Linked DNA regions of Homo sapiens: region 1 is linked to region 2. Evidence: promoter capture Hi-C in 16 types of primary human blood cells and fetal thymus (Javierre and others, 2016). All regions are on one chromosome and are shown on one strand. Each heading gives the region's core, a stretch centred on a gene start or on the middle of the fragment in contact. The rest is flanking DNA. Distances are from core to core; before and after follow the strand shown. Region 1 has its middle 40 kb from the start of LGR5. Region 2 holds the start of TPH2 (tryptophan hydroxylase 2).

Region 1 (3,971 bases), core at 1,162-3,661, 540 kb before region 2:
TAATTATCTACCGTTTGGATACTATGCATAGATTAGTATTTGTGGTTTTGTTAACAACTTTATAATTTTACCATAAATATAGAACATATCAAGTTCTCAATGAATTTCAACATGTTTAATGCCTGCTTCACCAGAAATCCAAAGCAGAAATATTTTTGTCCAATGTGACTTATTTTTGTTATACCTAACTATGTATGAGTTGACATTTTCATAAATATTTTATAAAATAGTAATTGGTAATCAATATGATCTAGAAATACATTATTCTCCAATTTATTTTAAAAAAATAATATTCTTGGAATCTTCTGGGAATATAAGATTGTAATCATAAAATAAAATCAATTTTCTATTCAAAGTGACTAGAAGCACAGATAATCCCCCCAGAAAAAAAAATATATATATATATATATCACACACCCAATTGGATTTTATTGAATGTTTTGCTCGAGTAGCAAGCTTCCAGACTGGAAACAAGAAAAGGCAGAATATCTACAAATGTTATTTTTTTTTTTTTTTAGAGACGGAGTCTCGCTCTTTCACCCAGGCTGGAGGGCAGCTGTGCGATCTCGGCTCACTGCAAGCTCTGCCTCCCGGGTTCACGCCATTCTCCTGCCTCAGCCTCCCGAGTAGCTGGGACTACAGGCGCCCGCCACCACGCCTGGCTAATTTTTCGGTATTTTTAGTAGTGACGGGGTTTCACCGTGTTAGCCAGGATGGTCTCAATCTCTTGACCTCGTGATCCGCCCGCCTCGGCCTCCCAAAGCAAATGTTCTTTACTATTGTTTTACTTTACTGTGATTAGAAAATGGCTTGCTTTGCCTAAGTACATGTCAACTCTCAGTAAATGGTTTCAATTCATAAGAAAGCAATTGAAAGTCATTCTAAAATTAAATTTTAGCTGCATTTAATATAGTAAGTATATAATCCACAAACAAACAATAAAGCAACTGAAGAAAAAAAGTATTCATTTGGCCTAGCCATGTCTGTGAGTAGATATGCTATTTTACTATCCTCTGAACCATGTCACTTATCTCAGATAAGGAAACAATTCAGTGCAAGAAAATGCTATCACAGAAATCAGTGCAGCTGGAGTAAAATACCTGTGAGCTCACTTGATGACAGTCCACAAACCAAAGAGGGTTCATGGGTTTGCTCAAAGATGGGGTCAGGGAAGGGTCTCTGTTTTAGTACATTTAATCTCAAAGAGAGTGAAAGTCACAAAAAACAAATCTAATTACGTCACTCTCCTGCTTAAACTCTTCATTACCCTCCCTCTGATCTCAGGAGAAAGTCCAAAATCCCAAAATGCCATCCAAAACGCTTTATGAGCTGGGTTTGCTGAGTTCTCTGGCATCAACTCTCAACATGCCCCCACTCCCTTCACAGCTGTGCAGCAAAATGCAATTCCCCAAGAACACTCTACTCCTTCAAACTGGAACACTCTTCCCTCACTTTCTCAGGACTTACTCCCATCTGTAACTCAAGCTACCACTTAAAGGGCAGCTTCTCCAGAAAGTCCTGCATTTCCAAAGTCCCGTGAGAACAGAAAGTCCTCCTGCAAGTGCTCTGAGCACCGTTCAATATATCCTATTAATCATACTGTATTGCAGGGTGGTTCGTCTGTCTCTGCCACTGGATAGCATTATTTTATCCTCACAAAACCCAATGAGATAGGTCTTATTATGCCATTATATAGATTAATAAACCAAGATTCAGAGAGAAACTTACTTAAGGTCACATAGTTAATTGGAGGTGGAAGAAGAAATAAATAAAATCCTGTAGCTTCTTTTAACCATCACACTATGCAGCCATTGAGGATGAAAGCATTAATTCAAACCATTATGAACTGTTGCTATATTAACTTAGATTTTATATATATTATATGTATAAACGATATACATATGTACATATAATGCTTAGTGTATAACCTACCTGTAACACATACTATGTGCTCAATAAACATTAGTCATCATCATTATTATTATTATCATTAGCATTATTAATGATTGGTCAGAATTTATCTCTTTCCAGGCAAAACTCCAGGAAAACAGCCAAGCCCAGGACCTTTCCAAACAATGAGAACAATCACAGGTAGTAGTTTTCTCAAACTACATCCCCTGCTTTCTTTCCTCAGAAGTTTTTAATACCAACCTGTATTAAGCTTCCAAAACAGACAAAATAGAATTGCTCTCAAAGGAAATTCCTTTTCACCTCCATCCACCTGCAATTATTCCTTGGTGATTGAGGGCTACATTAAAGAGTCTAAAGAGTATACATTTTACATCTTTGGTGCTGTCATTCTATCACTGCTTTTGCACGATATCCATCTTTATCCTTTTGGCTTGACTTAGGCCCATTATACGTGAGGCCCCATTAAACGAGTGAATTTTTACAAAACTCTTTATTTCTTTAGGGATGTGAAAATGAGTCTTATACCAATGGCAGCAGCATCTATTTGAAGACAATCTGATTTTGCAGGGACTTAAATGGAAAACAATGAAAACAGGAACTGTCTGCTATTAGATATGTTTCCTGAAACCCAAGCTGAGTAAATTAAGTCTCTTGGTTTTGTTGTTGTTCTCACCTCAGAGAGTCCTGCTTAAATCAACAGGGTTTTGAGAGTACAGATCAATAGTAAGACTTTGCATTTTTGCAGAAGAACAAAGCTTTCTGGGGAAAGAATCAGCCAATGAACAGCAATTAGTGTCTTAATTGCAAATACACTTAAAGCTCTGAAGAATTGTGTTAGTTCATTGAATTATTGAATCTGGGATTTGTTCCTCCACATTGAAAACTAAGTGCACAATTTAACATACTTGGCAACTTTTTTAAAGCACAGTCCAAACTTTGAAATGCTTCTTGCATTACAGATCCAAATAGCCCTCATGAAATAATAAAATAAAATCTTTGGTTATCATTTTATTCACAGTAGCATATTGGATTTGCAGTTAATAATTTTCAATTTCCCAAGAGTAAATTTAGCCATAAAAAATTAGTTTATAAATGACCATACAATGTTTTCAATCAACTTCCATATTAGAGATTCAGCTTCTTAATTTAGAGTTCACTCTCATTTTAAATTTATGGATGAAAGAATGAAGAGCTGAAACTTCACGTCTGTGGAGTAGACACTAGACATTGAATCCAATTAGAGCTCCTAGGTGTAGGAAGAGTTGTACTCAACATCGTAAGCACAGGGCCGAGAATTTGGGGATGTGGGAAGCCAACAGAAAGGAATAGAGCACCTAATGAAATAGTCCAGCAGAAGGGCAGAACATAAGGAGAAATCTCTGTTCATTCCACATAATTCTTTATCTGACCTCACCCCCACATTGCAGCAAGTACTACAGATGAGGTAGAGACTCCTCAGCCATAAGGAATGAACCCCAAGGCACTAGGTTCTCTCCACCTACTCTGTCTTCATAGTCACAAAGATTTTGACAGAGCTCCAAATCTGGGAGAAGATTTTGAACTATTCACAGATCTCACCGCTCCTAAAAACTTCAGAAGAGACCTCAGAGCTCCCCTCAGTGCTGTCCCCTCTACCCATTCCAGCTAGAGGAAGGACCATCACACTCTCTGACCTTCCCTGTACAAAATTCTCAGGGCTTTCATAAATACAGTTCCAATGTGCTCACAGCTGAGCTCGAGAGTCTTTATATATGGCATTGTTCTCTGAGTATCATTTTCTGCTTCTGTTGTACCACATCTTAAAACTAATTTTCTCCTAAATTCTATTAGTATAATATTTTCTAAACTGTGAAGAAAAAGTCATTGGCCATTTTAATGGTGATATCATAGTGATTTATATTCATTTTTTCAAGCTTTCTGAGAAGAATGGAAGTAGAATTTTTTTAAAGTAAAAACAAAAAATTTCAGAATGCATAAAGGGAGAACTACATAAATAATCCTTCATGTCCAATGTAGTGCTTTTTAACACTGGGTCCATGAATTGTTATGGTTATCAATGT
Region 2 (4,322 bases), core at 748-3,247:
TTGTTATAAGTTTTGATTTGTCTAACTGCTTCTCACACTTTGAACCACTCTTTTTCAGTCTCATCTACCTTCAATTCCAGAGGTATTTGAGCCTTTAGGGTATTCTGTCATGTAAAGTGCGTTGCTTCTAAGTCTTCTTCATTGATAGCTTAAGGTTCAGCTTTCCCATGACTGCAAAGCCTTTGATCAGTTTTTTCTTCTTTCAAGCTGCTAATTTTTTGTTGCCATTGTTTTCCAACTTATGCGACTCTTGTGTACCTTGAAAAGGAATTTTTTATCTTGTTTTAATAGGGTTTCCAGGGTGAGCAAAAGTAGTTAAATCTTTAATATTCTAAATATATATTATAAATAAATTACTTTTAATATCTTTTTTTCCCTCATTTCCACATCCAAGCAGGGACACTATCTAGTGGATTTTATCCCTTCACATCTCTGGTTCTTTCATTACATCTCAGTAACATTAGCTACTATTATTGTCATTAGTTCATTTGCCTTATTTAAACTTGCTTCTCCTATTAGCTGATTAGAGCTGACCCTTACAGAAAATGTAAGCCAAATAATATTTTCAGAATTAGATCAATTAATAATTATGTCTCTTCAAGACTCCAGAAACAATTAAACTTCAGTCAATATTAGTTCATCCCGACTTGTTTTGAAATTTTTTTTCTATATAGACAAGCAGTGCCAGCACCAGATTTTGTTTAGATTTTCAGTCAAACAAGCACATTTGGTCAAGAGTTTTTCATTCTTCAGGAGATTGGTAACATTTTCCTGTGGCCTGGTGAATTTTATGACTTTCTAAGGTTTGAATAGTAAGAATATTGATTAATCTATGCATGTCAAGTTGCTGGATTTGATCTAGTTGACATTGATATTTGACAGTATGTTTAGTCATTAAAAGCTCAAATGTCATAGTACTCTTAACCTCTGCTTTCTCCTCACCACATAACGCACAGATCTCGTATATTTAAGTAGCACTTTTTATATGAAAGGGTCATGTCAAAGATTAAATTTCCATGATTTCCAGTAGAGAGAAAAACCACAAGAGTATTAAAATGAATGGCTGATATATGGGAATCTAGTTTCCTTTTATTTCTCATTTAGTAAGGAAGATTCCAGGATTAGTATCTGAGCTATATGTAATCTACATGTGGCTAAATTGAACCCTTACCTTTCCTTTGCAATACATTTTCCTCCATATAACTCTGCATAGAGGCATCACAGGATTAAGAAGAAGCCCTTTTATGAAAGCCATTACACATATATACACTCACACATTTGCATGCACAAAATTAGAATATGTCAAGTCAGAAAAAGCTTATTAACATAAAATGGAGTTGGTCAATGAGTAAAAAAAATATGCTGATGGGAGGGATAAGATCTAGTGTTCGGGAGCACAATAATTTATTTTCTTTTGTATTTTAAAATAACTGGAAGAGTGGAATTGGAATGTTTCTAACACAAAAAGAAATGATAAATGCTTGAGGCAATGGATATCTTGATTACCTTATTTGATCATTACACATTGTACGCTTGTGTCAAAATATCACATGTGCCTTATAAATGTGTACAACTATTAGTTATCCATAAAAATTAAAAATTAAAAAATCCGTAAAATGGTTTAAGCATTCAGCAGTGCTGATCTTTCTTAAATTATTTTTCTAATTTTGGAAAGAAAGCACAAAATCTTTGAATTCACAATTGCTTAAAGACTGAGGTTAACTTGCCAGTGGCAGGCTTGAGAGATGAGAGAACTAACGTCAGAGGATAGATGGTTTCTTGTACAAATAACACCCCCTTATGTATTGTTCTCCACCACCCCCGCCCAAAAAGCTACTCGACCTATGAAACAAATCACACTATGAGCACAGATAACCCCAGGCTTCAGGTCTGTAATCTGACTGTGGCCATCGGCAACCAGAAATGAGTTTCTTTCTAATCAGTCTTGCATCAGTCTCCAGTCATTCATATAAAGGAGCCCGGGGATGGGAGGATTCGCATTGCTCTTCAGCACCAGGGTTCTGGACAGCGCCCCAAGCAGGCAGCTGATCGCACGCCCCTTCCTCTCAATCTCCGCCAGCGCTGCTACTGCCCCTCTAGTACCCCCTGCTGCAGAGAAAGAATATTACACCGGGATCCATGCAGCCAGCAATGATGATGTTTTCCAGTAAATACTGGGCACGGAGAGGGTTTTCCCTGGATTCAGCAGTGCCCGAAGAGCATCAGCTACTTGGCAGCTCAACAGTGAGTACTACGTACCTGGCACTATGGAGAATTATTTTTTAGGGTGTGACCATCTTCTCCTCACCATATGAATCCCTTTTGTAGTGTAAGCACGCACACCTCAAATTTCTCCTTCTTTATAATCTGTCTACCCTGCTTTCCTCCTGTCTGCCTCCAGTCTTCCTCTTCTCTCCATAAGTAAAGCGAGTGTGCCAATCACTGCGTGCTCAACTTTTTTTCCGCAAAGTTTGTAAGTAGAGAGTTAAGAAGTTCCTGAACATTAAGAATGAGAGATTGTATGAATCAATGTCTTAAATCTACAGCCAAAAAAAAAAAAAAAAAAATGGAGTGTGAAGAATTTTGAAAAGCCGTTTATTATGAGGAGGAGGAGTAGGGAGAACAAATTAAATAAATTTCCACGGTTTTCAGAAGATCATTGTGTCTCCTACACCCCCTTCAGTTTACAAAGCCTGGTCTTTAAACATAGAACTATTATTTTCTCTTCTTAGTTATGGGTGCAGGTTATTGGAATAAAAGAAAGATTGGATTCCTTTCAAAAGTTTTTCTGTGTTTCACATTGCTCAATTTTTTTCAGTTTACTTGATGGAATAATGAAAGCAATACACCACTTGCTATAGTATTTAAGGGAGTTTTATGTTTATAATATCTACAGGATAAAAAAGCAGTATTTGCAGGATTTTAGATCCTGCTTTCAGGTAGTAGTCATGGGATTTAATAAAAACCACGAAATAAAAATGTATCCAGGTCCTAGTCATTAAAAATATTAAATGGTATTTTATTACTGTACTATCAGAGTTTATCAACCAAATCCAATTCAGTCTGTATCATAGAATCATCTGTTTTAATTTCGTAGCTCCAAATATGTGCCAGAGGGCTGCGTTGGACTGACATATTATTACTGATAAAAATGTTGAAAAGTAAACATGGCAACTTCTGTAGAATTATTTAAATCAATTTGCAAAAATGAGGCCAAAATGTAAATAGATTTTTTAACATTTAAATATCATGAATATTTGGATGAGATATTACAATGAAGAGTTTTGAAGTCATAATTAACTGCTAGAAGGAAAACAAAGTAAGCTCAGGGTAATGGTTAATGTATGACCCTTTTATATAAAAAATGCTACTTCTGTATGCAAGATCTGTGTGTTGTGTGGTGAGGAGGAGGCAGATGTTAAGAACACTGAGACATTTGAGCTTTTAATGACTAAACATACTGTCAAATGTCAATGTCTGCATAAACTTCTTCCCTCCCTCAAGTCATAAATAATAAAATCTCCATCTCTATTATATATAAATCTAGTGAGTAAGGCAATACTGATGTGTGAAAATAAAGCCAGTAGAGAAATCAGAAGAAGACAATGGCAGATAACTATTCACTGGGTCCCAAAGCAAACCTACATTTCTCAGTTTCATGAGGATGTAGTAGATTGGTACGATTGTATTAAATCACCATTTGCCAGGAGTTACTTCTATGTCTGCCCAATGCTGTATTTGCATATAAAGAATATAAAACAGACCACATAATTTTGCATTGTCTGTCAAATGAAAGTTTCCAGCTTGTTGTTTTTGTTTTGTTTCCTCCCATTCTATTCCTAAATAAAGTTTCCAGCTTTTTATTCTGCATTTCTGGCAATGTGACCTGAGTTACTGGAATCTGTCATTTTTTTCTTTAGCCAGCAGGATTAATAGACATTACTTCATCAGGCAATATAAAATCTTAAGTGGCTAATGAAGTGTTAATCTTTTTCAGTTTCTCAGATTTTTACTGTTTGCCCCTAATAATTAGCTGGCCAGGTTTCTTCCTTCCTGCCTTTCTCCTTTTTTCCTTTTATTTGTCACTGAATTTTAATAGTCACTTCTCAAATATTATCTTCTGACACAGATGGCCTTAGAGTTAGTTATACATGTGTCTGTGCTGAACTTTTGCAGGCAGATTCACATTGACAATGTGGATCTAACTGAAGAAAGTAATACTACCCATTAATTTCTGGGCATGTGCTGACATATTTTGGAATGAAATCGATATTTTGTTTTTAAAATTTAATTGAAACTAAAATTATTTTCAAAAATATGTT

The links. Contacts are between HindIII fragments. The CHiCAGO score rates a contact against its expected background, and 5 or more counts as called.
Region 1: a contact is called between a fragment that was not itself captured here and the fragment with the promoter of TPH2 in region 2, in 1 of 17 cell types (non-activated CD4 T cells). The highest score is 5.0, in non-activated CD4 T cells.

What each region holds. Positions count from the first base shown.
Region 1 is chr12:71,398,122-71,402,092 of GRCh38, forward strand. No RefSeq gene overlaps it. Among named protein-coding and RNA genes, the nearest start is that of LGR5, 40 kb to the right of the region's middle. The HindIII fragment of the contact is 505 bases long and covers 2,160-2,664 here.
Region 2 is chr12:71,936,848-71,941,169 of GRCh38, forward strand. TPH2 (tryptophan hydroxylase 2) reads left to right here and starts at 1,998. Exons shown (of 11, transcript NM_173353.4): 1 at 1,998-2,244. The coding sequence starts at 2,140. RefSeq lists a silencer at 1,864-2,163. The HindIII fragment of the contact is 5,670 bases long and covers 1,316-4,322 here.